Linked DNA regions of Homo sapiens: all the other regions are linked to region 4. Evidence: promoter capture Hi-C in 16 types of primary human blood cells and fetal thymus (Javierre and others, 2016). All regions are on one chromosome and are shown on one strand. The core of a region is centred on a gene start or on the middle of the fragment in contact, and the rest is flanking DNA. Distances in the headings are between cores, read along the strand shown.

The links. Contacts are between HindIII fragments. The CHiCAGO score rates a contact against its expected background, and 5 or more counts as called.
Region 1: a fragment that was not itself captured here is called in contact with the fragment with the promoter of PAPSS1 in region 4 in 8 of 17 cell types (total B cells, naive B cells, total CD8 T cells and 5 more); the score reaches 21.1 in total B cells.
Region 2: a contact is called between a fragment that was not itself captured here and the fragment with the promoter of PAPSS1 in region 4, in 6 of 17 cell types (naive CD8 T cells, total CD4 T cells, total CD8 T cells and 3 more). The highest score is 8.4, in naive CD8 T cells.
Region 3: a fragment that was not itself captured here is called in contact with the fragment with the promoter of PAPSS1 in region 4 in 5 of 17 cell types (naive CD8 T cells, naive B cells, activated CD4 T cells and 2 more); the score reaches 6.4 in naive CD8 T cells.
Region 5: a fragment that was not itself captured here is called in contact with the fragment with the promoter of PAPSS1 in region 4 in 1 of 17 cell types (total CD8 T cells); the score reaches 6.9 in total CD8 T cells.

Annotation. Positions count from the first base shown.
Region 1 is chr4:106,316,948-106,320,577 of GRCh38, reverse strand. All of the region lies in intron 1 of AIMP1 (aminoacyl tRNA synthetase complex interacting multifunctional protein 1), which reads right to left. Among named protein-coding and RNA genes, the nearest start is that of AIMP1, 2.2 kb to the right of the region's middle. The HindIII fragment of the contact is 502 bases long and covers 1,038-1,539 here.
Region 2 is chr4:106,336,783-106,340,398 of GRCh38, reverse strand. AIMP1 (aminoacyl tRNA synthetase complex interacting multifunctional protein 1) reads right to left here. Exons shown (of 7, transcript NM_001142416.2): 6 at 3,362-3,530. Among named protein-coding and RNA genes, the nearest start is that of AIMP1, 22 kb to the right of the region's middle. The HindIII fragment of the contact is 3,256 bases long and covers 439-3,616 here.
Region 3 is chr4:106,298,655-106,302,368 of GRCh38, reverse strand. All of the region lies in intron 2 of TBCK (TBC1 domain containing kinase), which reads left to right. Among named protein-coding and RNA genes, the nearest start is that of TBCK, 16 kb to the left of the region's middle. The HindIII fragment of the contact is 1,459 bases long and covers 1,389-2,847 here.
Region 4 is chr4:107,718,632-107,722,434 of GRCh38, reverse strand. PAPSS1 (3'-phosphoadenosine 5'-phosphosulfate synthase 1) reads left to right here and starts at 2,201. Exons shown (of 12, transcript NM_005443.5): 1 at 2,201-2,315. The coding sequence starts at 2,256. RefSeq lists enhancers at 749-898, 2,889-2,948 and a silencer at 2,009-2,258. The HindIII fragment of the contact is 5,198 bases long and covers 324-3,803 here.
Region 5 is chr4:106,269,787-106,273,228 of GRCh38, reverse strand. All of the region lies in intron 3 of TBCK (TBC1 domain containing kinase), which reads left to right. Among named protein-coding and RNA genes, the nearest start is that of TBCK, 45 kb to the left of the region's middle. The HindIII fragment of the contact is 176 bases long and covers 2,007-2,182 here.

The DNA.
Region 1 (3,630 bases), core at 39-2,538, 1.4 Mb after region 4:
AAGTTCAGGGATAGCTTTCTTTTCCAGGGCTAACAGTGTTGGAAATAACTGATGTGAATGTCTTTAAGTAAGACAGACAGACACTTTACTACTCCCTGTTGTCTGCCATTTATATTACCTACCAGGCTCCTAAAATAAGTTCATGACCCCAACTTTACACTCCCTGATTTTGTGTCATGTGCTGGGTTTATAGTAGAGAACAAAAATAAACATGTTCTTTGAACTAACTAAGCTTTCAGACAAATGGGGGAAACACAGTTGAAGACATTTTTAAAATAATGTTACGCTTAGGGCACAGTGATAGTTTAACAACAATACTGCTTAAAGCTCAAACAAATCTTTTACCATTCAACCCAGTGCTCATTTCATTAATCTCTATGCTAATTACTCCCCTGTGATTTTTCAATTTTACATTGAGTATAAGTCAACCTTCAAAATTTTAAATCCTCAGAGTTTCTAATATGTATAAAGTTTCTCATAGATGATAATAACAACTACATATATTTGTAGAACATGCGCTATGGCTGGCTAAATGCTTTACACAAGTCAATTTCGAATACTGTAATAATCTCCATTATACAGAGAAGAAAACTTGAATTAAAATTAATTTGCCTCATGTAATACATAGTAAACGAGGATTGAAACTCAGGTCTGTCTGATGCTGCAGTTAGCTCTTTTAATGCTCTAGCTATAATTTCTCTAAAGGATATAATTACGAAGCATTTTCCAATATATTTAATGACAGAATCCTAACACAGGAACAGCTATTAACATTTATTTGAACTAGTATTCTCTAAAACAGTTTAGGAAATGCTAGTTTAAGTCTCTGGACTAAAATGTAAAAAAATTAAGACTGTGAGATTAAAATAGATATAAGAATGACATGCACAGTAATTGAAAATATAAAACATTTATGAAGAGAGAAGCACAGAAAACTGTAGACCAAGTATGTTAATTGTGTTTGGTGAGGATCAAGACCTTTTCTTTTTCCTTTACTAAATTAAAATGGTAATAATGCATTTTTTAGGACAAAAGCTTTTGAAACATATTATCTAAATCATTCTGTCCCTTCACATTAATTTTGTCCTTCTCAATGTTAATTATCATACTTCATCAAACCTAAAAAGCCATTAATCATACGATGCCTCTAATGCAGAATCCCAAATACTGTACATGAATTTATAGTACATCTTAATCATTAAAATACACACACAAAAGATGATTTTTGAGATTCTGAGATCTTCACTATCATTTTTGTTTACTGAGCAATTTCCTCAGTAGTCCTCCCCACCCACACCATCTAAATTGCCTGCAATCTTTTTGAAAAAGCAAAATCTCTGCCCCACGATGACAACATTGGGAATCAAACATAAGTAAGTTACTACTTTGAAATCAAAGTTTTACAGGCAGACTTTTAATTTTAGAATTCTTATGCTATATAGGAACGCTACACAAATTTGAAAGTGTCTCTACTCAAAACCTCTAATTTCCCTATTTCAGAATTACAGTAGGTAAAAATTTACATTTTTGTTGGAAGCTTTAAATACTATACAAGAAATCTAAAATGCCATCAATTGTAAAATGGCTTCAATCCCAAGAAGCTCTATTATTTTATGTACATTATGAAAAAAAACACTATTGAATCAACTGACCCAATGCTTTCTTATTACTTAGACACATCCTATATTATTTATTGACAGACTTCTTTTAAATTTAACCCTGGATTTTTATCTTGTATCACCCTTTGTTTCCCCACATACACAGTAACTTTTCATTCTAATGCTAATCATAATCTTCTAAATGATCTTTAAAAGGGAAATTACACTCAACAACTATATGCCAATAGTGCATATATAACTCAACTGAAATAATGACAAGATTAAGTTATGACTAAGTGGGTGTAAGTGTGGGCAATGACAAATATCTCACAACTGCCAATTCATCTACAGTGATTTAAAGATGTCAACAACTTAAAAATACATCCCTATTTCAGAGATGTTAAGTAAGAGAAAAATGTGTATCTCAGAATTGATGGAATATAGTAATTTTAATCATTTTCTTCCTTTCTTCTCCTCCCTTCATTCCTATTCTTGCCTTCCAACTTCTTTCCCTGATTTGCTACACAATCTAATTACTGGATATGTAAAAATATTATAGTATACATAAAATACCCCACACTGAAAGACCGTCCTTATTATAGTGTAAAGCAATGTGGTACCTTTTAGCACTAGGTGAAAATTCCTGCTAGGATTTAAATCATATGTGTCAAAAGTCAGAATTTAAAGAAGAAAATTAAATACACTGAGAACAATGCATCTGAAGACACTCAAAATATGTAAGCGCAGCAACCAGCAGTAATTCCCTAGGTCTTTTATCAACCTTTGCCAAAACCTATAAAAAGAATATCTAAAATTGCTTTTTTATGGAAGTTCCTATTTCCCTTACCAGACAGCCTGCTTTCCCTTTACTGATGAGGACATAGGGGGTCCTGGAGGGTTTAAAGGATGGCTATAAGGAATGACTATAGGGTGGACAGCTATGAGAGGCCAGTCCATGCATTTCTAAATACCATCGTCATTAACACAAAAACTTTCCTCCCCAGTACAGAGTCCATAAAATTTAAAAAGGAGTATGCCTTGGCCTCCCATGACCCTCTTACCTCACAATAAGGCCATCTTTTACCTGGTTAAGATTTGCAGACTAGACCCATTACATACCTTGTCATTAAATACCTATAATATACCCTAACCTTTGCAATCTTGACAGATGTGATTTCCATTTTATAGACAGATCCAGGAAAATTACATGACTTATCTGAATCCCTTCAAGTACCACATAGCAAAGCCATGATTTTAACTTGTGTTTGCCACTCTGAAACTCACACTGGAATTCATTTTTCAAGTGTCCTCCAAAGCCTAATTAAATAAAATTAACCCTGTCATCTATAATACTCTTACATATCCAAATTAAGTGCATCAAGAATATAACTGGCCATTTCTTACCACCCATAGTCAAACCACCATTATGCTTCCTCTGGATTATTGCAAAACTCTTCTTATTGGTCTCCTTTCTCCTACCACGTCCTCCTCTGTGTATTTTCCTTAAAGAGTGACCCTCTTAAAAGGAAGTCAGAGCCCATCACTCTACTGCTCAAAACGCTCCAAAGTCCTATTTCATTTAGAATAAAAGTTAGATGTCCTCAAGATCTTCATGACCTGCTCGCCTTGATTTAATCTCCAGTGAAGGACTAAACCCTTCACTCAACTCTGCCCTACAGGCCTCCTTGCTATTCTAGCACGTTTCTGCTTCATGACCTCTGCAATGGCTGGTCCCTCTGTCTGACTGCACTTTCCCAAGATATTCGCGTGGTTAAATCTCCCACTTCTGTCAGCCCTTTACTTAAAAGTCATCTTTTCAGCAAGACCTTCCTGTGTCACTTTATACCCTTCTTCCCTGCTTTACGTTTCTCTTCAGGACTATCACGACCTAAAATACAGTATGTTTCTAATTACTTTGCTTAGTATGTGCCTTCCTCTCTAAAATGTGAGCTACAAGTAGACACAGATTTCCGTCTGTTTTGTTCACTGCTGTTCACCTAATGCCTAGAACGGTGTCTGGAATAGAGTGGGC
Region 2 (3,616 bases), core at 817-3,316, 1.4 Mb after region 4:
ATGCTCACTACCTGGGTGATGGGATCATTCCTATACTAAACTTCAAGGACATACAATTTGCCAATATAAGAAATCTGTATCCCTTGAGCCTAAAATACAAGTTGGAAAAAAAAAAACCCAAAAAACCTTAGTTTAATTTTATTGCACCATTACAAAATAATTCGCTCACACACACACACAAATCCTCAGTCATTTCTACAAATATGTCTCCAAATTGTTCTTTTACCTAATTCTATTTATCTTCATTTATATCTGCCTTTCCCAATTACTCTAGTCAAATAAATATCCTTTAAATGCAGTCTTAATTTCTAACTGTTTTTCTTTTTATCAGGTCCTTCCTCTTATATGAGATAAATACTTATTCTATATCTGCCAAGAATCTTTTCTCTTCTGCTTCAAAGACCTATTTGAAGAAACTTTCTCACACATTATGAAGCTTCATCTGTCTCAGGAGTATTTTTATTAGAGAAAACAGGCAATACAAAATGAAACTTCCTTTTAGATTATTAAAATCATTACATTTTAACTTAGATATTTTCTCTATATCCTGAATTTGAGTAAAAACATATGCAAGTATATTATTAGATGGAATTTATAATTATAAATCTAAACTTTTCATCTCTGTCTTTCTGTGCTGCAGCATGAGACAATCTACAGCATAAGAGATTTTGCAGCACATTAATCTGTTCTCTATCCACGTCATACTTTTCTGCTACGCTGGTATTAATATTATTGCTTTAGTTAGGACAAAATCTCTCTGTGGTGTTCTGTTAGTCTGTTCTCATGCTGCTAATAAAGATACATCCAAGGTTGGGTAATTTCTAAAGGAAAGAGGTTTAATTGACTCACAGTTCCACATGGCAGTGGAGGCCGCCACATGGCAGAAGGTTAAAGAGGAGCATGTGTTACATGGCAGCAGGCAAGAGAGCACGTGTAGGGGAATTGCCCTTTTATAAAACCATCAGCTCTCATGAGACTTTTTCACTATCATGAGAACAGCACAGGAAAAACCCTCCCCCAGGATTCAATTACCTCCTACCAGGTCCCTCCCACGACAGGTGAAAATTGTGGGAGCTATAATTCAAGATGAGATTTGGGTGGGGACACAGCCAAACCATATCATTCTGCCCCTGGCCCCTCCCAAATCTCATGTCCTCACATTTCAAAACCAATCATGCCTTCCCAACAGTTCCCCAAAGTCTTAACTCATTTCAGTATTAACTCAAAAGCCCACAGTCCAGCATCTCATCTGAGACAAGACAAGTCCCTTCTGCCTATGAGCCATAAAATCAAAAGCAAGTTAGTTACTTCCAGAATACATTGGGGGTACAGGCATTGGGTAAATACACCATTCCAAATGGGAGAAATTGGACCAAAACAAAGGGCCCATAGGCCCCATGCAAGTCTGGAATCCAACAGGGTAGTCATCAAACCTCAAAGTTCCAAAATGATCTCCTTTGACGCCATGTCTCACACGCAGGTCATGCTGATGCAACAGGTGGGCTCCCACAGCCTTGGGCAGCTCTACCCCTGTGGCTTTGTAGGGCACAGCCACCATCCCAGCTGCTTTCACAGGCTGGAGTTGAATGTCTGCAGCTTTTCCAGGCACACTGCGGAAGCTGTCAGTGGATTTATGATTCTAGGGTCTGGAGGACAGTGGCCCTCTTCTCACAGCTCCACTAGGCAGTGCCCCAGTGGGGATTCTGTGTGTGGGGGGGTCCCATCCCACAGTTCCTTTCTGCACTGTCTTAGTAGAGGTTCATGACGGCCCTGCCCCTAGAGCAAATTTCTGCCAGGACATCCAGGGGCTTCCATACATCTTCTGAAATCTAGGCGGAGGTTCCCGAACCTCAGTTCTGTGCCTCTGCAGGCTCAACACCATGTGGAAGCTGTCAAGGCTTAGGGCTTGCACTCTCTGAAGCAAGGGCCTGAGCTGTACCTTAGCCCTTTTTAGCCATGGCTGCAGCAGCTGGGAAGCAGGGCACCAAGTCCCTAAGCTGCACACAGCACGGGGGCCCTGGGCCCAGCCCAGGAAACCATTTTTTCTTCCTAGGCCTCAGGTTCTGTGATAGGAGGGGCTGCTGTGAAGGTCTTTGAAATGCCCTGGAGACATTTTCCCCATTGTCTTGGCAATTAACATTTGGCTCTTCATTGCTTATGCAAATTTCTGCAGCTGGCAGAAATGGGTTTTTCTTTTCTACTGCATCTTCAGTCTGAACATTTTTCAAACTTTTATGCTCTGCTTCCCTTTTAAACATGTTCCAATTCCAAACCATGTCTTTGTGAATGAATACAACTGAATGCTTAAGAGCACCCAAGTCACCTCTTAAATGCTTTGCTGCTTAGAAATTTCTTCTGCCAGATACCCTAACTCATCTTTCTCAAGTTCAAAGTTCCATAGATCTCTAGGGAAAGGGCAAAATGCCACCAGTCTCTTTGCTAAAGTATAGCAAAAGTCACTTTTGCTTCAGTTCCCAACAAGCTCCTCATCTCTATCTGAGACCACCTCAGCCTGGACTGTATTGTCCGTATCACTATCAGCATTTTGGTCAAAGCCATTCAACAAGTCTCTAGAAAGTTCCAAACTTTCCCACATTTTCCTATCTCCTGAGCCCTGAAAGTATCCAGGAAGTCCCAAACTGTTCCACATTTTCCTATCTTTTTCTGAACCCTCCAAACTGTTCCAATCTCTGCCTGTTACCCAGTTCCAAAGTCGCTTCCACACTTTCGGATATCTTTACAGCAGTGTCCCTACTACCCAGTATCAATTTACTGTATTAGTCTATTCTCACGCTGCTAATAAAGATATACTCGAGGCTGGGTAATTTATAAAAGAAAGAGGTTTAATTGACCAACAGTTCCACATGGCTGCAGAGGCCTCACGATCATGGCAGAAGACAAAGGAGGAGCAAAGGCATGTCTTATATAGTAGCAGACAAGAGAGCATGCGTAGGGGAACTGCCCTTTTATAAAACCATGAGATCTCATGAGACTTATTCACTATCATGAGAACAGCACAGGTAAAACCTGCCCCCAGGATTCAGTTACCTCCCACCGGGTCCCTCCCATGACATGTAGGGATTATGGGAACTACAATTCAAGATGAGATTTTGGTGGGGACATAGTCAAACCATATCAGGTGTTTTATACAACATGTACATTCATGGGGAGGAGAATGATTACAAGGTTTACTCAATGTGTCATCTTGAGCCAATCTTGAAAAACTCAATAATAGTTAATAATGGTCATTAATGTAAGACTCATGATTCTTACACAGGACTGATTTTAACCTTTAAGCATTACAAACATCACTTTGAGAACTGATTCCGAAACTATTAAGTAATTACTAATAAATACCTACCTGGGAAAGCATCAAAAGTAATTCTGTCTCCAGGAACAGACCCATTTGGAGGAGCCAAGATTTCAATTTTCTCTGGTGAACTAGCACACATGACCATTGCTTGAGATAATACTCCCCTCATCTTTGCAGGTTTCAGGTTACAAAGTAAAATCACCATCCGATTTTGCATCTGTGTGAAATATAAACTGGTAAGTAAAGATGTACACAGATTAAGCCTAATCATATCCAGACTACATTAAGCTACACCTAATATGC
Region 3 (3,714 bases), core at 869-3,368, 1.4 Mb after region 4:
AGTCGGGTGGGAACTGATCCGCTTAGAAACTGTAATCGTTCTACTGATTGTTGTTCTCTGAGGCCAGTTCAACAGCATGGTTAGTCCCGTTAGCCCTGTCCACTATATTGCTGTTTACTCTGCTTCCCTGACCTGCCCTGCTACTCCTGTATTTCAGCAGCCCTCTCTGCTAGGGTAACATAGGTCATGAATATGTGTAAAGTTTATATATTCTAAGTCTAGTTGTCTGAAATGAAAATATGGATTGTCATTAGGCTAGGGAATTTGATTATCTTGTTTTTATTGGCAATGTTTAGCATTCTGAAAAGTTGTGTGTATAAGGAATAATTTACCGTTAGAGTAATTGCTTATGTAAAAGTCTGTTTGTTCCAAAACATTCTAGTCATTTCAGTTGCATCTACTTTGAAAAATTTGAAGTTTCTGATGAACAGTCTCCTTAGTGAAAGTATTTCTCAATATGAACACATATTTTTCAATGGTGTAATACCACATGACTTTGATTTGTGTCTCCTCAAAGAATTTTGATTTTGATTCTACTTTTCCTCTTTTATTCTGTTCTTGCTATGCAGATATCTTGCTATTGTTAGTCATGCCCCCTCCCACCCTGCATGTTATTGTTAAGTCAGTAACAATTGACTTCTTACTTGGAGTCACATACTCTTGTTACATGTGGTCTGTTTTAGTAACATTATGTTTTCACATGTTATGTTAGCTCAGAAGTCTAGCTTTCACTGTTTTCTATAGATCATTCGAAACTAATCAAAGATGATAATATTTTCTTGCTAACTCAGCAGGATGAAGTTTTTAATCTCAGGAATGGCAAACATTTTATTAGAGTTTCAGAATTTTTTTTCTAATAGGAGAAAAATATCTTTAGGAGAAAAAAAGCCAGTAAAGCCTGAAAATACTATGTTAACAAATTTTATCTTTTCTTGTGAGCTTGAAATCTCAGCTGTGTTTAGAAGCAGAGTGAAGATGGTAAATGGTAGTGCATCCTTTTTTATTTGGTATTGATTATCCAGAAATCTTTCAATGATTGCTGGTGAAATCAAGAATAAAAATTATTTTATTTGAAATTAAAGTAGAGAATAATAGAATTATATGGAACTACAAGATAATTTATTCTGTATCTCTAGCATATAAATTTTAATCTGTATTAGTTTCATAAGAGAAACAGAACAAATTATATATATAATTATATAAGTTATTTATGTAAGTTATATGAATATATAAAAAAGAATTGCTGGGAATTGGTTTGCATGATTGTGGGGTGCTGCTAGGCAAGTTTGAAATCCATGAGGCAGGTCTTCAAGAAGGACAAGCTGAACTCTTGGGCAGAAGCTCAAGCTGTCATCCACAGTTGGAATTTATTGTTCTTCATGGAAGCTTCAATTCTGCTCATATTTATTTATTATTTATTTATTTATTTTTCAGAGACAGGAGTCTCACTATATTGCCCAAGCTGGTCTTGAACTCCTGGCTTAAAGTGATCCTCCCGTCTCAGCCTCTCATGTAGCTGGGATTATAGGTGTGAGCCAGTGTACTTGGCTTTCAATTCTGCTCTTAAAGGCTATTAAACTGATTGAATCAGGATTACCCTGATTATCTAGGATAATTTCCCTTAAAGTAAACTGATTATAGACTTTACTCATTTACAAAATAATTTCACAGCAACATCTAGATTAGTATTTGATTGAATGACTGGATTCTATATTCTAGCTAAGCTGACTCATAAAACTGACCATCACAGTGTTCTGGTACCAATACTATTCTTTAAGCATAATGTTTTTCTTTGTTGGTTTTGAACTGTATAAACACTTATTGAAATATCATATTTTAAAGGTGATGAGCTAGTCTCGATTTTTACTGTTAATAACAAAAGTGATGCAGTAAATATATTGTAATAACCCTTTATATTATTTTAAGACATTCATGATTCACCTCTTTCTCTAAATTTAAACAAAAAAACCACTACTTTAAAAAACTTTATTTTACTTCCCCCTACTCCTTATTCAACTCCTTTATTCTTGCTTAAATGTGTGTTCTCTTCAGTTTCTTAGTGTTAACTTTGTATTAGCCTGTTTTCACACTGCTGATAAAGACATACCCAAAACTAGGTAATTTGTACAGGAAAAACGTTTAATGGACTTACAGTTCCACGTGGCTGGTGGGGCCTCACATTCATGGTGGAAGGCAAGGAGGAGCAAGTCACGTCTTACATGGATAGCAGCAGGCCAAAAAAAGAGAACTTGTGCAAGGAAACTCCCCCTTATAGAACCATCAGATCTCATGAGACTTATTAATTATCACAAGAACAGCATGGGAAAGACCTCCCCTGTGATTCAATTACCTCCCACTGGGTCCCTCCCACAACACGTGAGAATTCAAGATGAGATTTGGGTGGGAACACAGCCAAGCCCTGTCAAACCTAAAACACACAGTTCAGGCTAGAGACGCTACATCATACTTTTGCTTCCTCAAATCTTTGTTAGAAGTAAGACTATTTCACAATTATTGTATATTCTACTCTTTAAAGTTCATCTTAGCATCACATTATTTTTTATAAATAATGCTACTACATTGATGATTTATATTTGGCACATTATGATTCCTAAATGCTTTATTCTGTGAAACTATATTGTTTTTATAACATGTTATTTTTAAACAGTGGTCCAGAGATTTCAGAATGAAGACTCTCTAAAGATTTCTTTAAAAAAATGGTTCATATTGGAAATATTGTTTTGGTATACACTCCATTATCTCTGGGAGAAACTTTGATGTTCTGCTGAGGATTATGGCTCAGCAGTATTAAAACTATGCTTAATAGTTCCATAGAATCTTGAAGCTTTGGCAAACACTTGTTTATGATGTTTTGAAGGGGTTTCCAGAAACCTGAAAAATTTTAGTTGTGCCAGATACTTTGGAAATCTCTTATAGATATGAAGAATTATGAATATCCAATTTAAAATGGTTAATTAATGGAATATGCACATTTTAATAAATTATTTTGTTTTTGTTTTACATGAAAGTCAGTGCTACTGAGTTATACTGAGTTTATAACGTGGGCATGTAATTTTCTACACAGGACAGGGCTCTGTTCAGTGACTGTGGTCATATGAGATTCTTCATTTCTAATGGCCACATCATGCCTTTGCTAAAGTTAATTCATCTAACAGTTATCTTTATATTACATGCCTATATGTTGTAGGTGACATTCTAGACACCTGTGATGCAGTACACCTGTGTGCACTAGGCTCCTGTGATGTACTACTGTGATGCACCTGTGTGCAACTACTGATGCACTGCTAGGCACCTGTGATGAGACCCACCTCATTCCTGCCATCATAAAATATATTATCTGATAGGAAAAAAGATATCACAGTAGGCCCCCCTTTTCCTCAGGGGATATGTTCCAAGAAGGCCCCCAGCACCCCCAGTGGATGTCTAAAACTGAGGATTGTACCGAATCTGATTCTTATCAGTCAGAACGTGTTTCTTCTGTTTATGTCTTCTACTCACAAATTTAATGCCTTTTCCATCTTAACTAGACACTTCTCTTGCAATGTGGTCATAATTTTGTAGTTTGAGGCGTGAGAGCAAAACTGGTATGATTTTCTTTTTTCTTCACAATTTCACGAATAGAAAATTTCTTACCATGTATCTTAACAACTGGTTTTTTTTCTTTCCTTATCAAGTCGAGAACTTTCACCTTTT
Region 4 (3,803 bases), core at 952-3,451:
AATTTCTTTAAATTGGTTTCTGAGTCCTTTTGACATAATCCGAGTAGCTTTTGACAGTTTTTTGTTATGTTTCCTGTTTGATGTTTCTGGCTCATTTGCATGACCCATATCTGGAATCATGAATTTGGATGGACAGTATCAATGTAAACTTATGATATATTTTACCTTAAAAAAAGTCTTTTACTAGAAATAAGGTCAAACTCACAGCAGTGAGCACTCCTAGAGCCAGATCGTTATATCTAAATACCATTTCCCTCTAATAAGAACCAGAACTCAGAGCAATGGCTAACTTCAGATGTGGCCCTATTTTCTCATATGAAGCTTGAGATCTTCTTCCAAGCTCATTCCTGTTATTGGCAGAATTTGAAATTATATTGAAATTCAGTTCTATGTATGAACCCCAGATTGAAAATTCCCTAGAAAAAAAGCTGAAGGGAACCATTCACATTTTAAGTAGTCAAGTAACAAGATCAGATTTCTGTTTCAGAAATACCGCTCTGACAGCAGGTGCAAGAATGGGGTGTGTGGCGGGGATGTGGAGAGCGGCTGCACAGCTGGGAGGATGTCCAGTGAACGGGCTTAATGATAACTCAGGCTGGATATAGGGGAGGCCTAATTTAAGACAGTAGCAGTGGGGCAAATAGATGGAGGGCTGATTTGCTAGTCACTAACAGGCAGCAGCCTCAGGTCTTGGTGATGGGGGCTGATTTGCTAGTCACTAACAGGCAGCAGCAGCAGCCTCAGGTCTTGGTGATGGGGGCTAATTTGCTAGTCACTAACAGGCAGCAGTCTCAGGTCTTGGTGATGGGCGGGGTCAGGGGCGGAGGGCGGCTGTGTCACAGGGGGGCAGAGCTGCAAGCAACTCTTTTGGTGCCAGGGGCAAGCTGCGGAAAAGAGAACTCAGAGTTATGGGGGGTGTGGGGAAGATAACTCCTGGAGGAAACTCTGTCATGCCCCCAGCCCATCCTCCTACGAACTAGCCCTGGAATAATTAGGTGAATTTGAAAATGTCCTCCGTAGGCGGGAGTTCTATTCGGGGTTACCTGCGGCCTCCCCGGTCCTGGATTTCAGTCCTCTAGGTATTTCCTGAGTAGCTCTTAATAATACAGAAGCCCCTTTCCGGTGTAGGTCGGTAAGAAGCACTGCACAGAAATCTGATGCGAAGTGGGGTCTCCTAGCGGAGAGGGAGGCACCTTATAAGTAATCACTAATCCAGGTTGAGATATTAATTATTGATGTCAAGAAATCGGGCTTTTATTATATCTTTTTAAAAACTGTGTCTTGAGGCCAGGCGCTGTCGCTCACGCCTGGAATCCCAGCACTTTGGGAAGCTGAGGCGGGCGGATCATGAGGTCAGGAATTCGAGACCAGCCTGGCCAACATAGTGAAACCCCGTCTCTACTAAAAATACAAAAATTAGCCGGGCGTGGTGGCACACGCCTGTAGTCCCAGCTACTCGGGAGGCTGAGGCAGGAGAATCGCTTGAACCCGGGAGGCAGAGGTTGCGGTGAGCCGAGATCCTACTACTGCACTCCAGCCTGGGCGACAGAGCAAGACTCCGTCTCAAAAAAAGAAAAAAAATTGTGTCTTGAGTAGAATTTTAATGTGGAGAATGAGCTGTTCGGTAAATCAATTCTTCCCTTTGCAAAGCTGTAAAACATTTAAAACATTTGGCCAGGGTGACATGGGCACAGAAGGGGCAGACAGGAGGTCGGCAGCCAGGTCTGTGGAGGAGTAGCCACAGGTGCAAGAGGCCGCGTCAGCGTCCTCCCAATCAGCCTCTGCTGAGGGAGTGCCGCGCGCGGCGAGCCGCGCACTCCCCTTGCCTTTCTCCCGGCGGCTGGTACTCGCTCTTAGAGATCTGCGTTAGCTCAGAGCTAGGCTCGGTGCCGCAGAGGCACCTGAGGTTCCACGACTGCATTCCAGGCCCCGCCCCTTCATCGGGATCTGGAAGGAGGAGCGCCGTGCGCGCCCGCGCCGGCGCGAGCGCTGAAGCTCCGCCCCCAGCTTCTACCTCCGGTTCTATCCCGGCGTTTCGCCCTTCCCCACAGACCTCTGCCCCGGACCCATTTCCGAGGCGCGCCGCATGCGCCGCGCAACCCAGGCCACGAGCACGGGCGCGTGCTTAAGTCAGCGCGCGCCCGCTCCGACGCGAGGAGGCCCCGCCCTCCAGCCCCGCCCCGCTCGCTGGCCTGCCCTCCTCTTGCTACCCTCCCGGCGCAGAGAACCCCGGCTGCTCAGCGCGCTCCGCGGTCATGGAGATCCCCGGGAGCCTGTGCAAGAAAGTCAAACTGAGCAATAACGCGCAGAACTGGGTAAGCTGGGGACGAAGGCGAGACGGCGAGGAGCGGAGGGGCTGTGGGAGCAGCTCGTTCCGGAGCCGCCGCCTCTCTCCCGCCTCCTCCGCATCCATCCTTCCAGGAGCGCGGAGGTGGGTTCCGGGGCTGCGGCGCCTCCCGGCTGGGGCCGTGGGTGGTTGCGAGGCAGAGGGGCGCGGCGCAGGGTGGGGATCTCGCCCTAGCTTGGCGCAGCGTGCGGTCCGAGCCACCGTTCGTGGGAAGAACGCCCCCCCTCCCCAGCGCCTCCGCTCAGGTAAGACCCCCAGGAAAATCCTTCACCCGTGAACTGGCGCTTGCTGAAACCTCCGGGTGCTGAAACCTGCGGCTGCAGAAACAGGAGCTTCCTGCATACCTTGGAGTGGCCTGAAGATGTGCAGAGAAGGCGGAGGCGGGCGCCTTCGACGCGTTCTTGGTTTTTCTTGGCTCTGCCAGTGCGGTTGGCCCAGGTTTGGGTCCATCTCCGTGTCTTTCCATTTCTGAGTTTCAGTGTGAAAGGAGAGTACCCAACAATGTGGTCATTCATGAGTTGAGACTGCCCTGAACTGAGGTTCTTTGTGTCTCTGTGTTAAATCGGAATGTTTAACAAGTAGGAGTTTGGAAGACTCCATTCCTGGTGACAGTCAGGTATGGGACCAGTCCTTTATAACGTTTAGTAATGACTGCCAGTTGACTTTGTAAAGTGCTGTGTCCTCATAACGTTGCTTACTTCCTTAATTTCTCTGTGATGAGAAAGAGCCTTATCTTCCTTTGTAAGTGTGCAGCAGGGAAGGGCCCATCTTTGGAGTCTGGAAAGGCACTGGTTTAAGTTTAGACGGAAACGTTATTTCACAGTCCAATGGAATAATAAGGTTTAAATGCAATGTCTCCCAAAACGTTACTTGCCCTAGATGAATCAAAGAAAAAAAAAACAAGCAATTTCAGGCAAATGTTCTTTGGAAGTCATTAATTTACCACATCTGTTGTTATTGTTATCATGAGTTGTTTACTGATTCCTCTCTCCTTTTATTTAACTCTATAGATGGTAAGGAGGGGAAGGAGATTTAAAAGATGAATTAGAACAGTGGAAAGAGCGCTGGACTCCTGGCCTGGTCTCTCATCCCAGCTTTGCCATTTACTAGCTGTGTGATCTTGAGGAGAGTCACTTTACTTTTTCGAACCTCAGTTGACTTAAGGGTATAATAGTATGTACTTCACGGGATTGTTTTGATGAACAAAGAAGACAGATCATGAATTTGAATGTGCGGTGAAACCACTGCCTTGAAACTCAGACTCAGTTTCGCTTCTCTTACCTTAAGGTGTTTCACGGTTAGGGAAATAAGGTTGGCTTACTTGGGGTATTTACAGATGATTTCTGTTACATTGTCCATTTATGTACTCATTTATTTATTAACATTTGCCACATGGTGCGTATTCTATGTAGAGACTTGTGCTAGACATGGTGGTGAAAAATGTGGGACTTACTGC
Region 5 (3,442 bases), core at 845-3,344, 1.4 Mb after region 4:
TCTTTTCAAGAGGAACTTCATCTTAAGTTGTATTCCTTTTACATTTTGTTGTTATAGTTACAATTGTAAAGCCAAGGGTTGAATTTTCATCCATTTATCCAGACCCAGTCTTTAATTTAGTCACAAAGTTTGTGACTTAAAAATCTGTATATTACAAAAGGTGGATAGACCTATTAAAGGGCTATACTTATAGTAGTGGTTGTGGTATGGTTATCTTTATCATTGCTATTATTTTAACTGTTACTGTAGGTAGGTAGAAATACCAGGTTATTCAATGGGACCTACTAGACTATTCAGTTAAGTGAACCCATAATTGGGATTTAAATTTTAAACTTTTACCCTGTACTTACCCACGCGATTGGTTTGCTTTGCTTATATTCTATTACATCTTTGCTATATGCAAAATACCCTTAACTGTAGTTAAAAGTTAAAGAGGCCAGGCGAGGTGACTCTTGCTTGTAATCCCAGCACTGTGGGAGGCCGACGTGGGCAGATCACGAGGTCAGGAGATTGAGACCATCCTGGCTAACACGGTGAAACCCCATCTCTACTAAAAATACAAAAAAAAAATTAGCTGGGTGTGGTGGCATGCGCCTGTAGTCCCAGCCACTCGAGAGGCTGAGGCAGGAGAATGGCATGAACCTGGGAGACGGAGCTTGCAGTGAGCCAAGATCGCACCTCTGCACTCCAGCCTGGGCGACAGAGCAAGACTCTGTCTCAAAAAAAAAAAAAAAAAAAAATTAAATAAACAATGACTTTGGAGCTGAGTAAGCCTAGATATTTTCTTAGTTGAAAAAAAAATTGTCATCAGCGTCAAAAGAAATTAAGTTGATGAGTTCTTTCTATGAACTTATTCTTGGAAGAGAAAGGATGATGGGGGCTATACACACATTAAGAAACGTATGTAGCACGGAAAGAAACCAATATTTGAGTACCTACTTTATACCAGGCTCTATAAGCATGTTATATTTAAACTTTACCACATAGCTGTACTGGCGGTTATTATTACTTCATTTTAAAGATTAAGAAAGATACTTAGAGGTTAGATGACAATTAGAAAAAGATAGCCCAGGGGTTTAAACTTTGTTCTGTTTAAATCTAAAACCTATTATCTTTGTTCTATACTATACCTTCCTGTATACCTGAAAGTGAAACAGGTTCATTTATATTCGCCTTCTACGACAGCGGTTCTCAAAGTGTGGTTCATCATCATTATCACCTGGGAACTTATTAGAAATATAAATTCTTGGGACTCATCTTAGATACTATATCAGAATTGCAGGGAGTAGAACCCAGCAGTATCTATATTAATGAGCCCTTAAGGTGATTCTGTACCATTGCTTTTGATGAAAGGTTCTTAAAATTCTTCCATTGGTGGGAAACCTAGAAATCAATGTGCTCTTTGTAGAACAATATGAGATACTGACTTATACAACTTAAGAACAGTTGTTTTTTTGTTTTGTTTTTTTTTTTTTTTGGGACAAAGTCTTGCTCTATCGCCCAGATTGGAGTGCAGTGGCGCGATCTCAGCTCACTGCAACCTCTGCCTCCTGGGTTCAAGCAATTCTCCTGCCTCAGCCTCCCAAGTAGCTGGGATTACAGGCTCCCACCACCACACATGGCTAATTTTTGTATTTTTAGTAGAGATGGGGTTTTGCCATGTTGGTTAGTCTGGTCTGGAACTCCTGACCTCAGGTGATCCTCCTGCCTTGGCCTCCCAAAGTGCTGGGATTACAGGTGTGAGCCACCACTGTTAAGAACAGTTTTAAAGTATTTGAGCTAAATTAGCTACCATCTTATAGATTCTGGTTGAAATAAGTGATTGCAGATATTGCACAAGAAAACAACACACACAGGAGAACCTAAAATTAAGAATCCATATTTATTAATATTATATTTTTTGTGAATTGGTAAAAGATAACTATTCTCCAATTTTTACACAGTATTCCTGGGTCATTATGGGATTATATGGATAAGAGCTTTTTCTTACTCTTTTTTGTGAAGCTTGCTGTAATTGGTATGATCTTCCTTATATCATAGTATTGAGAACTGAAAGTCTAGTTCAAGGTTAGGTGAAATAGACAGAACTAACTAATTCAAGGTGATCTGGTTTAGGGAAAAGTATTTATTTATATAGGTAAGCAGAACTCAGAGTTCTACATTAAAATTTGGAGACAAAGCTTTGGCTATTAAAGTATTATTTTGCTTTGTCTGCCTTCCTATTTATGAATCATAGGAAGCTTATGGAGTCTAGTAGAAGTAGTTAAGAATAAAATTTGGCTATTTTTGGATTTTCTGATCTAAATATAATCACTGTATCACCCCAACTGCTGACAAATACAAGGGACGTGGTAAATAGGGTTTTTTCAGCAATCATACTGGTCATAAGTTACTTAAGACAGACCAATACTTATTTAACTGAACATTTCAGTTTGACAAACTTTTGTTTACAATATGCTGTCTTGCAGATGCTGTAATAAGCAATCCATATTATTCAGGCCCTCTCCCATTCATTATTTGAGATGGGTAGGGTGATAAATTAGTCATCTAAAATATTAGTCCACTTAAAAATGTGAATTGGTCTCAAATCAAAATTCTGAACAGTAATAGAAATTTGTTTCTCTTTTTTTCACATGGCAATATATACATTAATTTTAATTTAAAAAACAACTTTGGAATGATGCAGGGTACAGATTTAACCCACTATATGCCATGATAAGTTCTGTCTTAGAGAAAAGTTGCAGTCTTCCAACATCCCAAATGCTGCCAGGGTATGGGGAGTTGGACTTATTACCTAGTGTGTTTGCACAGCCAGAATTAGTGACTATGATGACAAAAGAGGTTTTGAAGTTTCTGTGCAAGGATAGGAAAAAATGCTTAGGAGAAGAAAACATTGATGGGGCAGAAATATGCAGCCAATCTTGAGATCCTCCAGACCTGTGTATCAAATGGTGATTTTATTCTCACAGAGAAGTTAGAAAACGGTTCTTCTGATTCAGTTATGTCAGGAGAATAGTTGGAGAACTCAACTTGCAATTTTTGTTAATTTATAGGATATATACATATGATATAACAAAATATATTGTATAGTTTCAGAAAAACCCTGGGATTTTTGAGGGAGACTTGGACTTTTTGTTTATTTTGTTTTGCTTTTAAGATGATTAAGATTCTGTGCAGGGCCGATAGCTCATTGATCTCCATTTAGCTTCTGTTTGGTGTTACATTTTTTACTTTATAAATTTGCAAATGGAGGCAGGGTGAAGTTGGAACACTGTCTAAGCATAACAAATCAGTGACAGAGCCTCCTGGCTTTATGTCTGAACCTCAAACCGCTAGACTATGTTTTCCATATGTATTTGATTTTACCAAGTTAATTTTCTGCTGAGAAGAAAAGTTATCTAGTATTCAAGTTGGAAAGTTAATTTCCCAATTTATTGTCTCC